Linked DNA regions of Homo sapiens: regions 2, 3, 4 and 5 are each linked to region 1. The links are contacts of gene promoters, found by promoter capture Hi-C in blood cells and fetal thymus (Javierre and others, 2016). All regions are on one chromosome and are shown on one strand. The core of a region is centred on a gene start or on the middle of the fragment in contact, and the rest is flanking DNA. Distances in the headings are between cores, read along the strand shown. Region 1 holds the start of WDR73 (WD repeat domain 73). Region 2 overlaps SLC28A1 (solute carrier family 28 member 1). Region 3 overlaps ZNF592 (zinc finger protein 592). Region 4 overlaps ALPK3 (alpha kinase 3). Region 5 has its middle 8.5 kb from the start of ALPK3.

Region 1 (4,688 bases), core at 2,126-4,625:
AGCTCAGGAGTTTGAGAACAGCTTGGCAAGACCCCGTCCCTACCAAAAAATACAAAAATTAACCAGGTGTGGTGGCACATGCCTGTGGTCCCAACTACTCGGGATGCTGAAGTGGGAGGATGGCTTGAGCCCAGGAGGCAGAGGTTGCAGTGAGCTGAGATCGCGCCACTGCACTCCAGCCTAGGTGACAGAGTGAGACCTCAAAAAAAAAAAAAAATTTTTTTAAGAAGTTTGGGGCCAGGAGTGATGGCTCATGCCAGTAATCCCAGCACTTTGGGAGGCCGAAGCAGGCGGATCACTTGAAGCCAAGCGTTCGAGACCAGCCTGGCCAACACAGTGAAACCTCATCTCTACAAAAAAATTTAACAATTAGCCAAGCATGGTGGCACATGCCTGTAGTCCCAGCTACTTGGGAGGCTGAGGCGGGAGGATCACTTGAGCCTGGGAGGTTTAGACTGTAGTGAGCCAGGGATCGCGCCACTGCACTCCAGCCTGGGTGACAGAGCAAGCCCTTGTCTCAAAACAAAAAGGAATTCAGGAGCAAACACTCAAATTCCTGCCCCCACATGGCCCTTCAAGGTCATCTGCCTGCATGCCTCACTCCTCCCTTGTCCTCTGATGACTAATACCATCCCCTGGACTCCTGATCTATCCTCACCTTCTATTCCTGGAAGCAGGAGCGTGTTCCCTGTGATATTCCCTCATTTTCACCCTCTCCCTCTTCAAGGGTTACTTTCCCATAGCTTCTAACTCTGCTCAAGCCTCTGTGTTTAGGAAACCTTCCCTCAGATCTGTGTTTCCGACTAGTTGCTGCTTTAGCTTCTTCCCTCCCTACATTTCGTGACTCTGCTTCCTCTTCATTTTTAGTCTTTGGGCCTGACCACCACCAGCAAAAATCCTGTAGCAGAGGTCACCAAGAGTTTCCCAATTGCCAGTCTTATGAATGAACTCAATTCCTCATCTGAATGATTTTTTTTTTTGAGATGCAGTCTTGCTGTTGCCCAGGCTGGAGTGCAGTGGCACGATCTCAGCTCACTACAACCTCCGCCTCCCGGGTTCAAGCAATTCTCCTGCCTCAGCCTCCTGAGTAGCTGGGATTACAGGTGTGCGCCACCATGCCTGGCTAATTTTTGTATTTTTAGTAGAGACGGGGTTTCACCATGTTGGTCAGGATGGTCCCGAACTCCTGACCTCATGATCCGCCCAACTCGGCCTCCCAAAGTGCTGGGATTACAGGCGTAAGCCACTGCACCTGGCCTTCAATTCTTCTCTCAATGATTTTATTGGAACTCTAGACAGCTACTAACTCTTTTTTTCTTGAGAAGTTCTCTTCTCTTGGCTTCAGAAACATTGACCTTTTCTGAGATTCCTCTTACCTCAGAGGCTGTTCTTTCTTAGTATTCTTTGGGGAGGGGGGGTGCATCTTCCTGTACTCATCCCTTAAATGTGTTCCCTGAGGTTCCGTCCTCACTATATTCTCCTCACTCCTTATATACCACACATTCACTAGGTGACTTTAATCACTCTACGCATTTCGACCGCCCTCTATATCCTTAATCGCTCCCTAAATCTATTTCTGATAAAGTATAACTGACCTCCTCCTCTGATAGCCCTCTGTAAACCACGAGACATTCTACAGCATTTATCTCTGTGCATATGTGCCTCCCTCTGTTAGACTAGAAGGGCAGGCCTAGCGCTTTCTCTCTTTCTAGTATCCAGGACAATACCTGGTAGATAACAGGAGCTCCACAAATGTTTAATAAATAAATAAAAGTTGACATACTCAGCATTTATATTTTAAGTTACCTTGTTTTCCTTTACAGAAAGTCTGAGAGGTAATTTCAGATGAAGAATTTCATTCTTTTTCAGGCTTTCATAGCCAGCAACAAAGACTCCTGGAAAAAGAAGCAGAGGTAGCTGTCACAAATTGTTAGAAAGATTGCAGACCATGCAATCCCCCGAAGTAAGGATACATTCCTTCACTGTGCAGCCTTGTATGGAGGAATTGAGTACCTGGTTGTGTCTTTTTCAGACAAGGTCTCGCTGTGTCAGCCAGGCTGGAGTGCAGTGGTCCGATCACAGCTCACTGCAGCCTCAACCTGCCAGGCTCAAGTGATCCTCCCACCACAGCCTTCAGAGTAGCTGGGATTATAGGCGTGAGCCACCATGCTCGGCTAATTTTTGTATTTTTTGTAGAGACAGGGTTTCCTTGCTTAGGTTAGTCTCAAATTCCTGGGATCAAGCAATCTGCCCGCTGCCTCAGCCTCCTGAAGTGCCCAGCCTGAAGACTTTTTTTGTTAGCCACGCTGGAATACAGTGTCGTGATCTCAGCTCACTGCAACCTCCACCTCCTGGGTTCAAGTGATTCTCCTGCCTCAGCCTCCCCAGTAGCTGCTGGTACACAGGTGTGCACCACCTCGTCCGGCTAATTTTTGTATTTTCAGTAGAGACGGGGTTTCACCATGTTGGCCAGACTGGTCTCGAACTCCTGACCTCAGGTGATCCGCCTGCCTCGGCCTCCCAAAGTGCTGGGATTACAGGCGTGAACCACTGCTCCCGGTCAGAGATCTTAATAAGAGGAATATTAGTGCTGATGGGGCATCAAATTGCTACAAGTGACTCTCAGGTGCCCAGAAGAGTGGGTTGGGTCCCTCTAGGCTTAGCTCCTGAAACCCAGCTCAGGAGTGAGATTCCCTCTCCTTCAGGGCTAGAAAGGTATACCACCTTTGTCATCAATCCATTCAAGGACTCGAGTGGCTCCTGACAGGTCGAATGCATAGAAATCCTGGTACCTGCACAAAAGGGACACAGAATCACACGATGCACAGCACTTCACAGCTCAAAGAACTCCAAGATGGCAGCCGCATGGTTCAGTGGCCCAAACTCTGGAGTCAGGCAGACGTGGGACTGAGTTTACTTCCCATTTTACTCCCTGTTTCTGGGACCAGGCCAGTCCCTTGATGTCCCTGAGCCTCGGTCCTCATGTGTGGACGTCCCAGGGTACCCAGATTTCCCAAGGTTGACGTGAGGAATCAATGAGATCATCTGTGTTCTGAGCTGAACTCAGAGGCTGGCGCAAACTAACTGGGCACTGCGTCTTCACAAGCGCGGCTCTTACTAGTAATCTCACAACGCGCGCACGCAGGAAGGAGCCATTTCCTAGAGATGGGGGCCTAGGCCCAGGCGGAGTCCTCCACGGTGGCGAGCCCCGAGGCCACAGCTGGCCCACTCTGCACCAGGATCCCCAACGTGCCTCCACCCACACCCATCCGCCCGCCAGGCAAGCTCCAGGCCCAGCTCCCATGTCCCAGCCCCGTACGATTTACAAGCGCAAGGATTCCACCAGCCAGTCGTCCCCAGGATCCATGGCAACGACCGCTTCCGGCGTCTCACTTCCGCCTGCGAGCCTTCGGGGGCCGCGCGGCTCTCGCGAGATGTGGGCAGGGCCTCCCGTTAGGGGCGGGGTTAACAGGCTGAGCTGCGGCCCGGCATGGGTGGGTTACGGGTTTTCTCCGCGAAAGCTCCGGGAAAAGTGACCTGAAATCGGGACTTTCCCGCTGTCAGCTCCAAGCAGGACCTGAGGACCAAATGATCGCCCGTTTTAGGGCCAGGTGTTTGCAGCCCAAGAGAGGGGCAATGAATGCTCCAAGGCCAGAAATAATACAGGACCGCCCGGTTAAATTCGAATTTCAGAAAAACGGTGAATAATTTCTTTCTTACGAGTATGTTCATGCAATATTTGGTACATTTTATTAGATAAAATTATTGTTTATCTGAAATTCGAATTTAACTGGGTGTCCAGTATTTTTATTTGCTAACGCTGGCAACCCTTCTGACGGCCAGAGAAGAGAGGAAGCGGCCGGCAGGGTCTGGATCCCAACTCGGCGCTCCCCTCCAAGTCCGGCGGGGGTATTGAGTAAAGCCCGGCAGTGTAGTGTCTGCAGCCCCCTTTTACTAGCGAGGAAACTAGTGACACTTGCCTGCGCCAGTAGGTGGCAGAGATGAGAGTAGAACCCCGCGCCTGGCACGAAGCCTGGCATGCAACAGGCGTTATTTGCTTGCTGAATGAATGGGTAGGAGGCCAGAGTCAGTGCCAGGCTGGTGCCATGGCATGGGGTATTCTGGACTTTTTGAGCCAGCCCCATCTCACTGAACACTCTGCCCTCCAGCCCCCTTTTCCTCCCATCCCCTAAAAGACGGGTGAAAGGAGAGGACCAGGCATTGTATGTAAAGAGCAAGGTTTTATTCACCAATTCAACAGGGAAGCAGGAAATACAGCAGGAACATAATCTGTGTCTGCATCAGCGATATTTCTGGTGACCCAGCCAGAAATCACAGTAATGGAGTAACAGAGATTTGAGCTCAGGATTTACATCCAGATGGGGCCATCAACAGGGTCCCATTCAGCACCTTCCCTGGGTGGGCACAATCTAAGCCACGCTGTTGTGTCTGCCCCATTATTGGTGTCATTTCTGCAGTATTTGTACCAGCAGCCTCCTGTACTGAAGAGAAACATACAGAAGAATTGAGCCAGGGAGGGGCTCCTGATAAAGATAGGGGCATCCTGCCATTCCTAAGTGCCAGATGTCTGCAGAGGTGGGCACCAGCAGGCTGTCAGCTGAGGCAGGCCCCAGAGCACCCTGAATTGCCTTGGAGGGGTCGGGGCAGTAGTTTTCTCAGAACACAGC
Region 2 (4,526 bases), core at 796-3,295, 240 kb after region 1:
TGCAGTGGCACGAACCCTTCCTGGGCTCAAGAGATTCTCCTGCCTCAGCTTCTTGAGCAGCTGGGATTACAGGCGCACGCCACCATGCCTGGCTAATTTTTGTGTTTTTGGTAGAGAAGGGGTTTGTCATGTTGCCCAGGCTAGTCTTGAACTCCTGGGCTCAAGTGATCCACGCTCCTGGGCCTCCCAAAGTGCTGGGATTACTGGTGTGAGCCACCGCGCCCCCCCACCGGCCACATTTCTGTATGTTGATGAGGTTCTGCCTTTTCAGTGAACTTCCTCCTGAGCCCTGGAGGCAGGGACTATCACTGGGGTAGTGGGGCCTGTGGGTGCTGCCACAGAGGCAGGAAGGCCTGAACCATTTCTACATTTGCCCTGGGCTGGGGTTGCCCTGCAGCCCTGTGGGGATGTCAAGGCAAGCCCTGGCTTGCCCCTGTTGCCACTTTACTGGGGACATACCTGAGTGGAGGTGCTGAGGATCTCCCCCAGATGGGGTCTGCTCATGCACTCATGGACCCTGCTGGTCTTGTTCCCAGGAGGAACCTGCAGCCAGCCCTGAGAGCCAGAAGCTTCTGCAGGGAGCACATGCAGCTGTTTCGATGGATCGGCACAGGCCTGCTCTGCACTGGTGAGCCTGGGGCCCAGCACTACCCAGGACACAATGACTCCTGCCTCAGCTATCCATGTCTCAGGGCAGGGTCATTCACTCACCCAGTCATTCAACAAATGGTTGTTGAGCACCAACTCAGGTCCAGCTCCCTTGCTGGGTACTGAGGCATCTGTTAAGCCAGGCCAGATCTTGTTCCCAAGGCACTCCCTCATCAGTAAGGGAGGCGGAAGAAATAGTCCCACATAATGCAGCATGTCATCTGGGAACACCAAGGAGGAATGGGGGATGATCAGGGAGGACTTCCAGGAGGAGGTGACATTGGAGTCTCACAGGCTAAGTAGGAGTTAGCCAGGTGGAGGTGATAGATACTAAGGAGGGCAAAGGCACTCCACACAGAGGAGTCACAGGAGCAAAGGTGAAAACTGGCAGGGTGTGGGTTTCGATAAAGTTCGACGTCTGCACTGTAAGGTCTGGAGGGTAAAGTTCTAGACAAGGAGTGTCAGGGGATGGGGCTGGAGAGATAGGAAAGGGCCCAGGATGGGGAGTGGGTAGGGATATGGGAGGATGCTCAAGGACTTGGATTTTACCCTCAAGGCCAGAGAGAGCCACTGAAGGTTTTGAACAGGGAAGCGTCAAGGTGGAATTCACACGGTGGGACCCTGGAAGGAGGGCAGGAAAGAGGGGGAGATGGAGACATTGAGGACTGCAATGCCTGTGTGAGAATGAAGCTGTGGAAGGTGGGCGGGGGCAATGGGAGAGGTCCTTGGGAAGCAATGCTAGCTGTACTTGGCAATGACTGGGTGTGCAGCATGAAGGAAACCCTGAATTAGGGCTGCCCCAGGGGCCTGCTCGGGTGATAGGAGGATGATGGTGTCTTCCACAGAGCTAGAGAACATGCGTGCAGAGGGAGTCTTGGCAGGAAGGGGGATAATTAGGATAGTTTGTTGGAGGTACCACTGCCAGGCCATCTGAGGGAGAGAGGAGGCTCCCCAGGCACACTTGGAGAATGAATTGAGAAGTGGGTCAAGGACAGAAGCCTGGAGACCAGCCACACAGAAGGGGTTGGCGGCAGCCAAAGGAGCAAGGGTTTCAAGGAGGGAAAGATCAGCAGCATCTCTGCAAGACCCGCAGGACAAAAACTGAGCCATGTCCACCGATTTAGGGACAAGGAGGCCACTGGTGACTTAGGGTGTAGGTGCAAAAACTGAATTGGAGCGGATGGCAGATGAGGCTGTGCAGACAGCAAGTGTAAATGGCTTTTTGGATCAATTTTTATGAGATCAGGCGGGGAGGCTGAATGGGCAGGGTGTGACCCAGTGTCAAGGATGGGCATGAGTTTGGGGTGGGAGACACTTTGTTTGTACGAGCTGAGGTGGGGAGTTTGTAGAAGGAATATGAAGGAATGGGAGATGAAGAGATGTCCGATGGAGCAAGGTCCCCTGGCACGGAGTAGAAAAGCTCCCCACCCCACCGGGAGGGGTGGGTCTTTGCAGGAGCAAGCTCACCTCATTCTGACAGGTTGGAATTAAAGAGGGGCCAGGCATGGCAGGTGGTTCATGCCTGTAATCCCAGCACTTTGGGAGGATGTAGTGGGAGGCTGTAGTGGGAGGATTGTTTGAGCCCAGGAGTTTGAGACCAGCCTGGGCCACACAGCAAGACCCCACCTCTACAAAAAATTTTAAAAATAAAAATAAATTTTAAAAAAAGAAAAAGGAGGATGGGTACAGATGCAGAGTCATTATAGGTGCTCTGGAGGGGAGGGGCAGTGAGAGAGGCGACAGCAATGACCTGGTCTGCTTGGTGAACTTGAAAGTAGGGTCATCTGCTGAGATGGGGTGGGTCCATGTCCCTCACAGCTTCCTTCTAGAGATGGTGATGTCCACCTTTGGCAGGGTCTGAAGCCAGGGCCATCTCTGTTTCCTTGGCTGCCTCCTTCACTCAGATCTGATTTGTTTCTCTTGAAGAACAATTGAATTCTCTCCAGTAGAGAATGAAAATTACCCCACTCATCCTATTTCCATGTTTGCCATGGCTGTCAGGAATGCAATCTGAATCATTGAATGATCCCTTGCAATGGTCAGCAGTGACTTTCTCTGTTTCTGGGTGACTTTGATTTCTCTGGCTTTTCAATATCTTTATTACATCACCTCTTTCCTGGGGAGGCTGTTCACAGACGTTCTGGGAATAGCTGTGATAGAGAAATGAGGCTCATATTCTCAGGACTTGGCTCCTGAGCTGCGACAGTGGCTTGCTTGCCTTAGGTAGGCCTTCTCCATGGGTGCAGCGACAGCGCTGGCACCATCAGACTAACAAGGATGGCCTTGGTGTCCCCAGTCTTAGAAGAAGGAGGTGCCTCTTGCCCGCTCTCCCAGCCAAAGCCCAGGGAGGTCTTCAAGGAGCTTAGCTCAGGTCCTGCCCGTCCCCAAACCAATCCCTGTGAATGGATCCTAGATGAATAAAATACTTCCAAAAGCACTTCTGTCCTTGTGCCCCTCCTGGAGGACCCCTCCACACTGCCCCCTCTCCCTGAGTCCCCATCCTGGCCTGCCCAGACCCCCCCAGCCTTCCTGGCCCGCCCCGACCACAAAGCACAGGCCCTGAGGCGCACAGACCTTCTTGGCCTCCTAGCCCCATGCCCTCCCTGTGTGAGGCACTCATCTCGGCTGGCCTCAGAGGCCTCCCTCTCCAAGTGGGCATCACTGTAGACCCCACCTTGTAGGGGTCTTGTGAGGATTCATTGTGAAAATGCATCTGAAGTGCCAAGCTCACCTCCTGGCGACCACGGAGCCTCTCCCTGGCCAGGTCCCCCTCCCCTGAACCCCCATGGCCGGTGCCAGCAGCCCCAGCACCGCTCTGTGGGGCTCCACCCGTGTGTCTCAATGACACCCGTTCAGGTAGGAACTCCAGCCCACAAGCTTCCATGTGAGAGAAAGGTCATTTTATTTTTTATAACTCAACTTATCTTCTCCCTCAATGTTATCATTCCAGTGAGTGACGGGAACTCAATTTCTGTCCATTTGGAACCTCCCTTCATCCCTTCCTCTGGGGGTCACCGGGGGGGCTTATCTATCATTACTCCTCAAGTGTCTCCTGACCTGTCCACTTCTCCAGCTGGTCCTGGGTCCTCTATCCTTGCAGGTGGCCATGGCGACCCCCTCTTCTCCATGGTGGGCTCATTCTGGTCTCCCGCCTCTCTTCTCTTCAGGCCTCTCGTGGAGACTAGTTCCGCTGTTTTGGTGCCTGCAGAGCCTCACTGGCTTTCTAGGGCCCTGCTTGCCACGCACCACACGGGCATTCCTCTCTCTGCAGTCCTGGGACCTCCCTGGGACTCGACCAGGAAGCCAGTCACAGGGCTTCACTGCTTGCAATGCTGCAAACACACCTGGCTTGGCGGCCTTGCCAGGCTCAGGCGCTTTCTCTGTGATACCAGTGTCCTTGTTATTGCCTGTACCAGAGGGGTTGGGTAGAACTTACCTTTATTCGTGATGTTTCAGATCACATTTTTTATCCATGGCTATGAGTCCTTTCCATTCTTCGAAGATCCTGGATTCTGAAATTCAAAAGCCAGGGAGAGGCCGGGCGCGGTGGCTTACGCTTGTAATCGCAGCACTTTGGGAGGCTGAGGTGGGCGGATCACTTGAGCCCAGGAGTTCAACACCAGCCTGAGCAATATGGCGAAACCCTGTCTCTACCAAAAATACAAAAATTAGCCAGCCATGGCGGTGGGCAACTGTAATCCCAGCTACTCGGGAGGCTGAGGCAGAAGGGTTGCTTGGACCCAGGAGGCAGAGTTTGCAGTCAGCCGAGATCATGCCACTGTACTCCAGCCTGGGCAACAAAGTGAGACCCTATCTCCAAAAAAAAAAAAAAAAATCTAGGGAGAGACATCTCCCCCTCTGCTATCCATTCTTATGTG
Region 3 (4,441 bases), core at 59-2,558, 140 kb after region 1:
GCCACCTCTGTGAGTAGGACAGGTGTCCCCTTTACTAAGAAGTTAAGAAGGGCCTCTCCAGCATGCAGGCACCAGCGAAGTCTTTTACTTTTTCCCTCTGGGCTGGCTGCTTGTCAGAGCTCTGCCCATCAGAGCGTAATTAGTCTGGTTGTAGTACTTGTACTTCCCCTGGTTTTCTCCTGGGGCTGGGAACAAAGGAGCTGCTACCTAATCTGCCCTTGTCTGTGGGTATGTTTGCTTAGCTGTGGCTCAGGGAACCCCCGCCACCCATCCCACCCCCCAACCCCCACCCCCGCAACTCTCCTAACCTGCAGAGTGGGCAAACAGGGCTAGAGCAATGGAAACTGACAAGACCACTCAGTCAGTCTTTATTGAGAGCCTTCTGAGTACCAATCAGGGTGGTCTCAGATCCACTTTGGAAGTCACTGATCCACCTGACTCGAGGTGCTGAGCAGGTCTCTACCAGGCCAATGTTGGGGGTAGATGGCAAGAACTGCCTCTACTGAGCTGTGACAGAGACCCTGGTGGGTCTAGCAGTGCAGTGAGGTCTTAGAATTCAAGATGTGCTTTAGGCCTCTGCAAAGGAAAAGCTGGTCCTCTGCTAAGCCACAGGAAAGAAACACAGTCCTGGGGCGGAACTGGTCTTTGAGAGAATAGGGTCAGGTCTGTCTCTGATTAATAGGGTGTCAGACAAAGCTTGCTTGGGTATCAGTATCAGCACTGGAAATGAGGTCTAGGGGTGTCAGAAGTGTCCAGGAGAGTTGGAAGAGAGAGTGGTTGGGGGAAGGGGTTATTCTGACCCATGTACTAGCAAACCAGACAGCCCTGATTGGAGAGCCACAGGCCTATGGCCCCTGCATGATCTGCTTTCTTGGTGTTCTTTCCTAGACCTGCCAGGTATGCCAAATGCTGCTGCCCAACCAGTGCAGTTTCTGTGCCCACCAGCGGATTCATGCACACAAGTCCCCCTACTGCTGCCCGGAGTGTGGGGTCCTCTGCCGCTCTGCCTACTTCCAGACCCATGTAAAGGAGAATTGCCTGCACTATGCCCGCAAGGTGGGCTACAGGTGGGTGCTGCCTGGCTTGCTGTCCTGGTATTGCCCAATGGCTGGTCCTTTTCCTAAGCCAGAACTCATTTCAGATAGTTTTGGTCTTAAGAGGCTTGGGTTCCAGTCTACACAGGACAAGAGCATTGGATGGTATGTGGACAGACATTTTTTATTTGGTAGCAGACAGGAAGAACAAGAGAGAGAAGAATAAGGAGTTTTAAAAACTTAAATATTAGAAAATTAGCTTTGAAGTTTTGGGGAGATTAGACATATAATACTTTGTCTATTTGGTTTTAAAACGTATGTAAGTTTAATTTGCTCACCAAGTTATGTTTGGCACATTAAATGTAAAGTGCTGTTTCAATAATGAATGTACTAATTACAGTACTTGGAAATGTTTGCAGGTTTTAACAAATGGGGCTGCAAGATGCCAAACTCAAAGGGCTTTAGTATCTTTCTTTTTGTTAATTTTTGTCAGTTTGTGGCAAAATGGGCAAAACCTGAGACTGGAAAAAAGGATCAGCCTCTTGGTAAAACCAAGAAAACTCTTATTTTCAATGGAATTTCCTCCTTTGTGTCAAACATAAGCAAGAAGTCATTTTCAGGGAAAAGATCAAAGTGAGGGAAAAAACTTCCCTCTAGAGCTCATTGATCTGTAAGTTGTTTTCTGCTCTTTGGCATTAAATTTTTTTTTTTGGTTTTAGTTCATTTGACTTTTTTGTGTGTACTTATTATTGTCTTCGGCATTGTGTTAGACACTCAGGATACAAAAATGATTAAGACACAGCCCTTGCCCTGGTAGGTTACAAACATAAGAACATAGGTAATTATAACCCAGAGTGCTAAGTCCCACAATAGAGAAATGGTCAGGAAAGCTTCCTAAAGGAGATATTAGGAGATTTTCAGACAAAAGAAGGGGAAACCATACCTGGCAAGGGCCTGACCAGGAATAACAGCATACACAAAAGAGGTGTCAGGAATGATGAGTATGGTTGTATAGAGGAATGTCAGGATGAATTGTGGGAGTGGGGAGAAATGAGACTAGGGAGTTGGCAGAGGTCAGACCATGCAAGACCTTGTATTTCTTGGCAGACATTTGGACTTTATCCAATGGACAGTGAGGAGCTACAGAAATATTTGCAGCAGGGGAGTGATTTGGCTAGTATATTTTAGAAAGATCATTCTGGGAAGCGAACACATATATTAGTGAGGAGAGAGACTGAAGACTTCTTGAAAGGCAAGTATGATGGTCCAGATGAGATGCTGAGGGCTTCACTGAAGGCATGATCGTGGGAATGGAGAGAAGGTAGATTTGACAGGGGTTTAGGAAGAAGCATCAAGATTTGACAATAGCTTTTATATGGAATGAGGGATGAGGAGTTTGGCAGAGGCGAGGCTAGGCCATGCAAGACCTTATATTTCTTGGCAGGCATTTGGACATTTTCCAGCGGACATTGAGGAGCTACAGAAGGATTTGCAGCAGGGCAGTAATCTGGCTAGTATGTTTTAGAAAGATCATTCTGGGAAGCTAACACGTATATTAAAGTTTTGCAATGACTCCCACATTTCTGTCTTGGGGTAAACATTTTATTTGTATATTTTTTTGAGACAGTGTCTCACTGTCACCCAGGCTGGAGGGCAGTGGTGTGATCGTGGCTCACTGCAGCCTTGACCTCCCGAGCTCAGGTGATCCTCCCATCTCGGCCTCCCAGGTAGCTGGGACTACAGGCATGCACTGCCATGCCTGGCTAACTTTTTGTGCTTTTTGTAGAGAGAGGGTTTCACCATGTTGCCCAGGCTGGTCACATAACTCCTGGGCTCAAGCGATCCTCCCACCTCAACTCCCCGAAGTGTTGGGATTACAGGCGTGAGCCACCGTGCCTGGCATTATAAACATTTAAAAATGTAGACTGATTTCTTTTTCATCTTATGGAGGATGGAGTATCTAAAGTACATTAAAAACAAGACAAACCTAAGACAGGATTATACAAAGCACTTACCACCAAGTTGCTGAGGAGCATTGCTTGGCAGCATCCCAGGCTATATTTTAAACCAAACATCTGAATATGTTTTTACAGTATCCTGTAACACTTAAAAATACCTTTCTAGCCTTGATTTAAGTGTATGCTGCTTGTTCTAAGATCAAATCCAATCCAATAGTAATACAATCAACACTTAAATATTTATCTTTGAATCTTGAATCCAAGAAAAAAAATTTTTTTTTTTTTAAAGATGGAGTCTCGCTGTGTCACCCAGGCTGGAGTGCAGTGGCAGCATCTTGGCTTACTGCAATCTCCACCTCTCGAGTTCAAGCAATTCTCCTGCCTCAGCTTCCTGAGTAGCTGGGATTATAGGCATGTGCCACCACGCTTGGCTAATTTTTGTATTTTTAGTAGAGATGGGGTTTCACCATGATGGCCAGGCTGGTCTCAAACTCCTGACCTCAGGTGATCCACCTGGCTTGGCCTCCCAAAGTGCTGGGACTACAGGCATGAGCCACTGCACCTGGCCCAAGAAATGTTTAATTGTACGGATGGATTAATACTTTTCATTTTTAATTACATATTTTCTTATGTACAAGTAAAAAGAAATGTCTCAAAAGCAGTTCAGTTTATCAAACCTTTTTGTAAGGAATGCCAGACCAAATGAATTGTGACTCAGCGAAAGGGATTACTGAAGATAGCGATATTAAAATTTTCAGTGATCTGCGGTTGAAGTCAGAAGACATACACAACACTACAGTGTTCATAACAGAGTTGTGCAATCACTACAAACAATTTTAGAGCATTTTTACTATCCAAGAAGAAACCTCATATCCACCACTTCTTTCTTCCCCCCTAGCCCTAGGCAATCGCTAATTTACTTTCTGTCTCATAGCTCTTCTGGACATGTCATATAAGTGGAATTATGTAATATTATTAGCATATTTGCAAGGTTCATCCATGTTGTAGCATATATCAGTATTTCATTCCTTATTATGGCTGAGATTCCATTGCGGGGATACACCATGTTTTGTTTATCCATTTGTCAGCTGATGGACCTTTGGGTTGGTTTCCCCTTTTGGCTTCATGAATAATGAATAATATGAATAATGCTGCTGAAGAACATTCATGTACAAGTTATCATGTGGACATGTTTTCAGTTGCTTTGGATACCTAGGAGTAGAATAGCTGGGTCAAATAGTAACTCTGTAGGGAGGGGAACATCACACACTGGGGCCTGTCAGCGGGTGGGGGGCTAGGGGAGGGATAGCATTAGGAGAAATACCTAATGTAGAAGACGGGTTGATGGGTGCAGCAAACCACCATGGCACGTGTATACCTATGTAACAAACCTGCACATTCTGCACATGTATCCCCAAACTTAAAATATAATTTTAAAAGAGGAAAAAA
Region 4 (4,539 bases), core at 945-3,444, 190 kb after region 1:
TCCATAAGATTTAAACAAGAATCAGAGTCTTGTAATATTTAAAATGTCCAAATACAATAAAAGTTACATGGCATATGAAAAATCATGAAAATCTCCACTTGCATGGAAAGACAATCAAAGAGTGCCAATGCCACAGTGACACAGATGTTAGAATCATCTGACTTTAAAATCATCTGACTTTACTATAAAAATGTGGCAAGTAAGGGTGAATACTCTGGAAACAAATGGAAAGATAGAAAGTCTCAGCAAAGAGGTAAAAGACTAGGCTGGGGAACATGGCAAAACCCTGTCTTTACAAAAAATACAAAAAAGTTAGCTGGGCATAGTGGTGTGTGTCTGTAGTCTGAGCTATTTGCAGGGCTGAGGTGGGAAGAACACTTGAACCCAGGATGTTGAGGGTGCAGTGAGCTGAGATCACGCCACTGAACTCCAGCCTGGACAAAGGGAGACCCTGTCTCAAAACAAACAAACAAACAAACAAAAAGAGGTAAAAGATATGAAGAACCAAATATCAATTTTATTCATTTTTTATTTTTTATTTTTTTGAGACAGAGTTTTGCACTTGTTGCCCAGGCTGGATTGCCTGGCACGCTGCAGTGGCATGATCTCGGTTCACTGCAACCTTCACCTCCTGGGTTCAAGAGATTCTCCTGCCTCAGCCTCCTGAGGGAGTAGCTGGGATTACAGACGTGTGCCGCTACACTTGGCTAATTTTGTATTTTTAGTACAGGGGTTTCACTGTGTTGGCCAGCCTGGTCTTGAACTCCTGACCTCAGGTGATCCACTCACCTCAGCCCCAAATATCAATTTTAGAATTGAAATTTACAATAACTGAATAAAAAGACTTACTGGTTGAGCCCAACAACAGAGTGATAGGTGACAGGGAGAAGACAGTGAACTTGAAGTTAAAGCAATAGAAATTATTCAATCTGAACACATACGCCCATACACGCACAGAGAGAGAGGAAGGGAGGGAGAAACGGGGAGAGAGAGAGAGAGAGAGAGAGAGAGAGAGAGAGAGAGAGGAATCAGAAAAATCAATGAACAGAGCCTCAGAGACTTGGAGTGCTGTATCAAAAAGTCTAACATTTGTGTCACTGGATAATCAGAAGGAGAAAGAGAAAGACAGTGATGCAGAAAAAAATATCTGAAGGAATAATGGCTGAAAACTTTCAAAATTTGGCAAAAGTCAAGAAGTTCAGCAAACCCTAAACAGGAAAAGCCCATAGAATTCCACATCCAGAAACCTCATAGCCAAACTGTTGGAAAGTAAAGACAATGAAAAACTCTTGGAAGTAGCCAGAGAAACATAATACATTATTTATAGGGAAGCAATGATTTGAATGACTATAGATTTCTCATCAGAAACAATGGAGGCCAAAAGGAAGTGGAACAACATTTTTTTTTAATGCTAAAAAAAAGAACTTTCAACCTATAATTCTACATTTAGCAAAAATATCTTTAAGTATTGAAAGTGAAATAAAGACATTCTCAGATAATGGAAAAAACAAGACACTACATTGTCAGCAGACCTGTTCTAGAAGAATTGCTAGGCTGGGAGCTGTGGCTCACGCCTGTAATCCCAGCACTGTGGGAGGCTGAGGCAGGTGGATCACCTGAGGTCATGAGTTCGAGACCAGCCTGACCAACATGGTGAAACCTTGTCTCTACTAAAAATACAAAAAAAATTAGCCAGGGGTGGTGGGGGGCACCTGTAATCCCAGCTACTGGGGAGGCTGAGGCAAGAGAATCACTTGAACCTAGGAGGCAGAGGTTGTGGTGAACTGAGATTGCACCACTGTACTCCAGCCTGGGTGACAAAGCCAGACTTGATCTCAAAAAAAAAAAAATAAAAAGAAAAAGAATTGCTAAAGTAAATTTTTCATAGAGAAAGGAAATAATACCAGAAGGAAACTTGAAACATCAAGAATGAAAGAAGGGCAATGGAAATGGTAAATATCCTGGTAAATATAATAGATTATTTCATCTTGATTTCTTTAAAATATGTTTGAAGGTAAAAAGTAAAAAAAAAAAATTACATTGCTGGAGTTTTTTTAATGTATGCAAATATAATATATAAGACAAATACAACATAAAGGGGCATAGGGTAAAGAGACCTATATGATGGTGAGATTACTGTATGGCACTTGAAGTGGTAAAATATTGACTCTAAGTAGACTGTGGAGAGTTAAGTATGTATATTGTAAGCCCTAGAGCAACAACAGAAATACTATACAAAGAGATATAGTAAAAATCACACTACGTAAGTTAAAGTGGAATACTAAAAGATGTTCTAATCTAAAAGGAGGCAAGAATAGGGAAACACAGGAAGGAAAAACAGGAAACAAATAGAAAACAAATAGTAAAATTATTGAGTAAAATCTAAACCTATAAATAATTATATTAACTATAAATGGTCTGAGCATATCAATTAAATGACAGATTGTGAGACAGGACCAGAAAAACTTTCCCAACTTGATGCTGTCAATAAGAAATCCATTTCAAATATAGTGATATAGGTCAGTTACAAGTAAAATAATAGAAAAATATATACCATGCAAACACTAATCAGATGAAAGCTGGAATGGCAATATTAATATCAGACAGAGTAGATTTCTGAGGAAAGAAAATTACTGGCTGGGTGCAGTGGCTCACACCTGTAATCCCAGCACTTTGGGAGGACAAGGCAGGCAGATCACCTGAGGTCGGGAGTTCGAGACCAGCCTGACCAACATGGAGAAAACCCATCTCTACTAAAAATACAAAAATTAGCCAGGCATGGTGGTGCATGCCTGTAATCCCAGCTACTTGGGAGGCTGAAGCAGGAGAATCACTTGAACCCGGGAGGTGGAGGTTGCGTTGAGTCGAGATCACGCCATTGCACTCCAGCCTGGGCAACAAGAGTAAAACTCTGTCTCAAAAAAAAAAAATTACTAAGAGAAAAATAGTGAACTATCTAGTGATAAAAGGGTCAATTCAAGAAGACATAACAATAAAAAATGTGTATGCACCTAACAACATACCTTCAAAATACATGAAGCAAAACCTGACAGAACTGAAAGTAGAAATATACAGAAAACAATAATTATAGTTGGAGACTTTAACACTCCTCTCTCTCAGTAATCAATAGAACTAGTAGACAGAAAATCAGTAAGGATATAAAAGAACTGAACAGCACCAGCAACCAACTATCTAATAGACATATATAGAATACTCTGTGTAACAACAGAATACTCATTCTTTTCAAGTGCATATAAAATATTCACCAAAATAGATTATATCCTGGACCATAATATAAATCTTAACAAATGTGAAGTAATTGAAATAATACAAAGTATGTACTCTGACCAAAATGAAATTAAACTAGAAATCAATGACAGAAAGATAATAGAAAAATTTCTAAACACTTTTAAATTAAAGAACATACTTTTATGGGCCAAGGAAGAAGTCCTAAGGCCAATTAGAAAACATTTTAAATTGAATGAAAGTGAAAATACAACATACCAAAATGTTGGATGCTGCTAAATCAGTGCCTTGAAGAAAATGTATAGCATTAAAATGTTTATATTAGAAAAGAAAAAGGATCTGAAATATCAATAACCTAAGTTCCCACCTTAGAAAACTAGAAAAAGAAGAGAAAAATAAATCCAAAGCAAACAGATAGAAAAGAACAGAAAATAATGAAACCAAAAACAGGAAAATTATGGAGAAAATAAACCCAAAGCTAGTTATTTGAAAAGATCAATAATATCAATAAACTTCTGGCAAGACTTAGAAAAAAAAAAAAAAGAAGACACAAAATACAAGTATTAAGAATGAAAGAGGGGATATCACTACAGACCCTGTAAGGATTGACAGGGTGAAAAAAAAAAAAGACTACTATGAAAAACTGCACATAAATTTAACAACTTAGATGAAATAGAGCAGTTATTTAAAAATTATAAACTACCAAAACTTATGCAAAAATGACTGCCCTGCCCCATCCCTGTTAAGGTCCTGGTTTTGTCCCTTGCTCTTCCAAACCAGCATTCCAGGGCCATGCCCCCTTAGAGGGTTATAAACCATACTATTTTTCATTCAGTTGTTCATTCCTGTGAACCCCTTATGTGTTTGGTACTGTGAAGAATGCAAAGGTGAATAAAACTTTTTATTTTTATTTTTATGTTTTTATTTTAAGAGACAGGGTCTTACTCTATTGCCCAGGCTGGAGTGCAAGTGTCATAATCATAGCTTACTGCAGCCTCGAACTCCTGGGCTCAAGCAATTCTCCCACCTCAGCCTCCAGAGTAGCTAGGACTACAGGCATATGCCACCACACCTGGCTAAATATTTTGTTTTTTTTTTGTAGAGACAGGGTCTTGCTGTGTTGCCAGGCTGGTTTTGAACTTTGGGCCTCAAGCAATTCTCCTACAATGGCTTCCCAAAGCACTGGGATTCTAGACATGAGCAACCATATCTGGCCATACACTGAGTCCTTAATATCTGAGAATTTATGAGGGAAGAGGGAAAAAGACAGCATGGCAAATTAAACCTCCTAAT
Region 5 (4,286 bases), core at 806-3,305, 150 kb after region 1:
TGATTTTGTACTCTACTTTTCTCCACTTAACGCAGAAAATGTCCAGTACATGTTTCTACATAGCCTTTAAATCATCATTTTCTTTTCTTTTTTTTTTTTTGAGACGGAGTCTGTCTCTGTCGCCCAGGCTGGAGTGCAGTGGCGTGATCTCGGCTCACTGCAAGCTCCACGTCCCAGGTTCACGCCATTCTCCTGCCTCAACCTCCTGAGTAGCTGGGACTACAGGCGCCTGCCACCATGCCCAGCTAATTTTCTTTCTTTTTTTTTTTTTGTATTTTTAGTAGAGACGGGGTTTCACCGTGTTAGCCAGGATGGTCTCGATCTCCTGACCTTGTGATCTGCCCGCCTGGGCCTCACAAAATGCTGGGATTACAGGCGTGAGCCACCATGCCCAGCCTAAATCATCATTTTCCATAATTGTAATCACGTTCATCATGCCAAATCAATACAATTGACCATTTCCTGTTTAACATGTAAATTCCCTACTTCATCAGTGCAATGAAGAGTCCTGAGCATATAGCTTCTTGCTTCTGCAGAATTATTTCCTTGGGAGTTTAGCCCTATTTTTTTCTTGAGTAAACTGGCGAGTGATAGAATGGAGAAGTTCATTGTCATAATAGTAATCAGACGCCCTAGGGTGCAGTCTCATTTCTGTAAGTGACAGTCATTTGGTCTTTCCTGGCCTTAGTTCTCTTATCTATCAAATGAAGGGGTTGGTTTATATATCTCTGGGGACCTTGATTTTTATCTTCTCAGTCTGTATACGTTCATGTCAAAATAGACCTTCCCAAAGGCAAGAACTTGTATTTCCTCTTTTGCTTATTTTTTTATTTGTTTACTTTTGACCTAGATGCATACAAAAATGGAAAAGATCCCTCTTACTCAGCCCTTCCAAGGCAATATCACTTTTATTTGCATTTATTTGTTTTTCAGTTTGCATTAGATTTATGCTTTCTCAGATAGAGTTCTAGCTCTTTATGAGTACCTATTTTTTTTAAAAAAAGTCTCATTGTTAATCATCCTAAGTTTTGCAGCTTTTTAAATTTTATTACTTTTTTTTTTTTTTAGAGACAGGGTCTGGCCCTGTCACCCAGGTTGGAGTGCAATGGCACAATCATAGCTCATTGCAACCTCAAACTCCTGGGCTCAAGTGATCCTCCCACCTCAGCCTCCCAAGTAGCTGGGACTACAGGTGTGTGCCATCATGCCTGGCTAATTTTGTTATTATCTTTTTAGAGATGGGGTCTGGCTGTATTGTCCAGGCTGGTCTTGAACTCCTGGGTTCAAGGGATCCTCCTGCCTCAGCCTCCCAAAATGCTGGGATTACACGTGTGAGCCACGGTACCTCGCAATTTTTTTTTTGGCTTTTGTCAAGCCTTTTGAAGTTTGAACTTTGTCTACTTCATAACTTCCAAGCATCTTCAAATCCTTCTGTCACCAGGCATTTTTCATTAGGGTTCTAGGTCCAGGTGAATTCTTGAGTTGGTTCGTTGTGTCATGTATTGGCCTTTAATAATGCTCTTATTTTGGCCCACGCCTGTAATCCCAGCACTTTGGGAGGCTGAGGCGGGCAGATGATGTGGTTAGGAGTTTGAGACCAGCCTGGCCAATATGGTGAAACCCTGTCTCTACTAAAAATACAAAAATTAGCCCGGCGTGGTGGCAGGTGCCTGAAGTCCCGGCTACTCAGGAGGCTGAGGCAGGAGAATTGCTTGAACCTGGGAGGTGGAGGCTGCAGTGAGCTGAGAACACACCATCATACTCCACGCTGGGCGACAGAGCGAGACTCCGTCTCAAAAAAAAAAAAAGCTCTTATTTTATATATATATCTATATATACCCATTTACAGATTTAAATTGAGTTTTCAGTGCATGAATACTAAAATCAACAAATATTTAATTGACCATAAGGAAAAGGGGTGCAGAAGGATGTGATAAAGACATGTAAATCCATTCTAACTAGGAGAAGCTTCCATCACAATGAGTCCCCAAGTGACAGTGGATCTGCAGCACCAGGGTGTTTCATGAAAGGACGTGGGATCATACATAGAGTGTTCGTCCAGATCTGCTAAATCGCTTCGCTTCTTGGCCTTTTGGCTGAGATCAAGTACAGACCTACCAGATCTTCTCAGACTTAATCCTGTAAGCTTTGCCTCTATTCTATATGAAAATGGGGATGGTAGATGATGCATTTGATATTTGGAGAGAGTGATTAAGCTCCTCTTCAATCTGGCATTCATTAAACTTGGAACCCCACTGATTCTAGGTCTCCCCTTTCAATTATAGCACAGGGCACACACATAATCCCTCCTTTTCTGTGGGGTTTTTTAGTCTGTAGAACAATTTGCTTAGAATTTTCCCCTAAGATCCATTGTGCATAACAGAGCTGAATATTCTTGGTATCTGAACAAGAAAGTAGGTGCTGCTTTCTAAGAAGCTCTTTGCCTATGGAGGAGGGGTTTTGATATGATTTAAAAGTGGGGAAAAGGAGAAGATGGAAAGTGGGGGTTGTCAGGGGAGGTGATGGTGGGAAAAGGGATAGAAATTTGTGGAGGGGCAGGCAGAAGAATTTGAACAGATGGAGAGTTTAGAACCTGGAAACTGCATTTTTTAAGACAGTGATAGAAATGGTGCTGGTGAGCTCAAAAGGGAGGTAGTGGCTTGATTCGTCAACGGCAGCACTTGGGTGAGCAGTAACTGTGGCAGCAGTTGCTGGGAGGAATTAATTTTTTTTTTTGAGACAGAGTCTCACTCTGTCACCCAGGTTGGAGTGAAGTGGTGCTATCTTTGGCTCACTGCAACGTTTGTCCCCCAGGTTCAAGCGATTCTCTTGCCTCAGCCTCCCCAGTAGCTGGGATTACAGGCACCCACCACCACGCCTGGCTAATTTTCATATTTTTAGTAGAGACGGGGTTTTGCCATGTTGGCCAGGCTGGTCTCGAACTCCTGACGTCAGGTGATCCACCCGCCTCAGGCTCCCAAAGTGCTAGGATTACAGGCATGAGCCACCACGCCCAGCCGGTATTAAAAGTTTTTTAAAGAATGAGAAGATATAGCTGTTGAGGAAAAGGAGAGCTGAGATTCAAAGACTTTCTTAGAAAAAGACAAAGACTTGAAAGGGAGGAAAAAGACTAGTTTACCTTGCAAGAAGACCAGGAGAAGCCTGGGCTGGGAAGAGCCTTTTCTAGGTTCAGTTGAAGATAGGGAGTTTATATACTGGGCCCAACTGACTAATTGCTGGCCCCTGACCACACACTTATCCTCTTATCTAATGATTGCTTTATTTTGGGACATGCCTAGATTTGTGGCAGTCCTGGATGGAATCAGAGCAGGTGGATTGGGGAAGACACGTGGCTGTGGCAGCTCTATCATTGAGTCCCAAATTCCCTTTCCAATCAAATGAGAATCAGGACTGACTTCTCATTGCCAGTAATCCTTTAATTGGTGTCCATTTACCCAAGCACAGCTGTGGCCACACAGCTATCCAGTCCCTGGATAGAAGCATGCCAGAGTGGCCAGCTCATCCCAGAGCGGTAGGACCTGGAGTGTCCACCCTCTTGGAATAGAGGCTCAGCTGCCTGAGCTGGGAGCTGTGGCAGCTCTTGGAGGGAGGTCAGACAAGCAGCAAAGAGCCCTGCAGACCAGCTGGCAGGAAGGGCAGCTTGTAGCACAAGGCAGTAAGTTCCCACGGGAGGGCAGGATCAGCAGAAAGAACTGGGCTTTGTTGAACTCAGAGCTGAGACTTTAGAATGAGTGGAATCAAGCGAAGGAAAAATAGAGGAAACTGGAGGGATTGGATAGGTATTTGATTAATTTACCATGCTATTAATGACTCGCATTGAGATGTGGTTTGAGGAGCGTTGAGGACTGGAGTGGAAGCCAATGATGCTTCATAAGGAAGTTTTCAATGACCCCTGACCTCAGACCTGTGCCACAGCTTGTGGAGAAGGCCACCTCAGCATGAGTCCACATGGGTGCCAAAGAAGCAAAATAAGACCTGGAAAGTCTTCTGACCAGAATGAAGTTGATGATCATTATAATGTACTTTGCTCTAAAAAGCTCGTGTGAACTATGACCATTCATGGCACAGGAGTTTGAGGTGAACATTGGCAAAGTAGATGCATCCAGAGAGGAACATCTTGCATGGCCTGAGGCTCTCAGTGCCATTTTGTTCAAGGAGCTGTTGAAGGAATTTGATGTTTCATCAAGAAAAGAGGTATTTCATGACCAGTATTTTCACGTCTTTGCGGAGCTATCATATCAAAAAGGAGTCTAGACATCTGTGTG

Evidence for each region. The method cuts DNA at HindIII sites, captures the fragments that hold promoters and counts their contacts. A CHiCAGO score of 5 or more calls a contact.
Region 2: a fragment that was not itself captured here is called in contact with the fragment with the promoter of WDR73 in region 1 in 3 of 17 cell types (endothelial precursors, M0 macrophages and M2 macrophages); the score reaches 6.0 in endothelial precursors.
Region 3: a contact is called between a fragment that was not itself captured here and the fragment with the promoter of WDR73 in region 1, in 17 of 17 cell types (neutrophils, naive CD8 T cells, naive CD4 T cells and 14 more). The highest score is 15.5, in neutrophils.
Region 4: a fragment that was not itself captured here is called in contact with the fragment with the promoter of WDR73 in region 1 in 3 of 17 cell types (M2 macrophages, neutrophils and endothelial precursors); the score reaches 8.1 in M2 macrophages.
Region 5: a contact is called between a fragment that was not itself captured here and the fragment with the promoter of WDR73 in region 1, in 17 of 17 cell types (M2 macrophages, M0 macrophages, naive CD4 T cells and 14 more). The highest score is 11.3, in M2 macrophages.

What each region holds. Positions count from the first base shown.
Region 1 is chr15:84,650,908-84,655,595 of GRCh38, forward strand. WDR73 (WD repeat domain 73) reads right to left here and starts at 3,376. Exons shown (of 8, transcript NM_032856.5): 1 at 3,327-3,376; 2 at 2,725-2,792; 3 at 1,807-1,895. The coding sequence starts at 3,367. It overlaps NMB (neuromedin B), which reads right to left. Exons shown (of 3, transcript NM_021077.4): 3 at 4,225-4,502. The coding sequence ends at 4,467. RefSeq lists enhancers at 2,729-3,696, 3,123-3,362. The HindIII fragment of the contact is 10,475 bases long and covers 1-4,688 here.
Region 2 is chr15:84,889,907-84,894,432 of GRCh38, forward strand. It overlaps SLC28A1 (solute carrier family 28 member 1), which reads left to right. Exons shown (of 19, transcript NM_004213.5): 5 at 537-628. Among named protein-coding and RNA genes, the nearest start is that of SLC28A1, 7.5 kb to the left of the region's middle. RefSeq lists an enhancer at 1-339. The HindIII fragment of the contact is 2,956 bases long and covers 568-3,523 here.
Region 3 is chr15:84,789,817-84,794,257 of GRCh38, forward strand. It overlaps ZNF592 (zinc finger protein 592), which reads left to right. Exons shown (of 11, transcript NM_014630.3): 5 at 889-1,067. Among named protein-coding and RNA genes, the nearest start is that of ALPK3, 25 kb to the right of the region's middle. The HindIII fragment of the contact is 1,228 bases long and covers 695-1,922 here.
Region 4 is chr15:84,846,225-84,850,763 of GRCh38, forward strand. All of the region lies in intron 5 of ALPK3 (alpha kinase 3), which reads left to right. Among named protein-coding and RNA genes, the nearest start is that of ALPK3, 31 kb to the left of the region's middle. The HindIII fragment of the contact is 4,724 bases long and covers 1-4,539 here.
Region 5 is chr15:84,806,754-84,811,039 of GRCh38, forward strand. No RefSeq gene overlaps it. Among named protein-coding and RNA genes, the nearest start is that of ALPK3, 8.5 kb to the right of the region's middle. The HindIII fragment of the contact is 178 bases long and covers 1,967-2,144 here.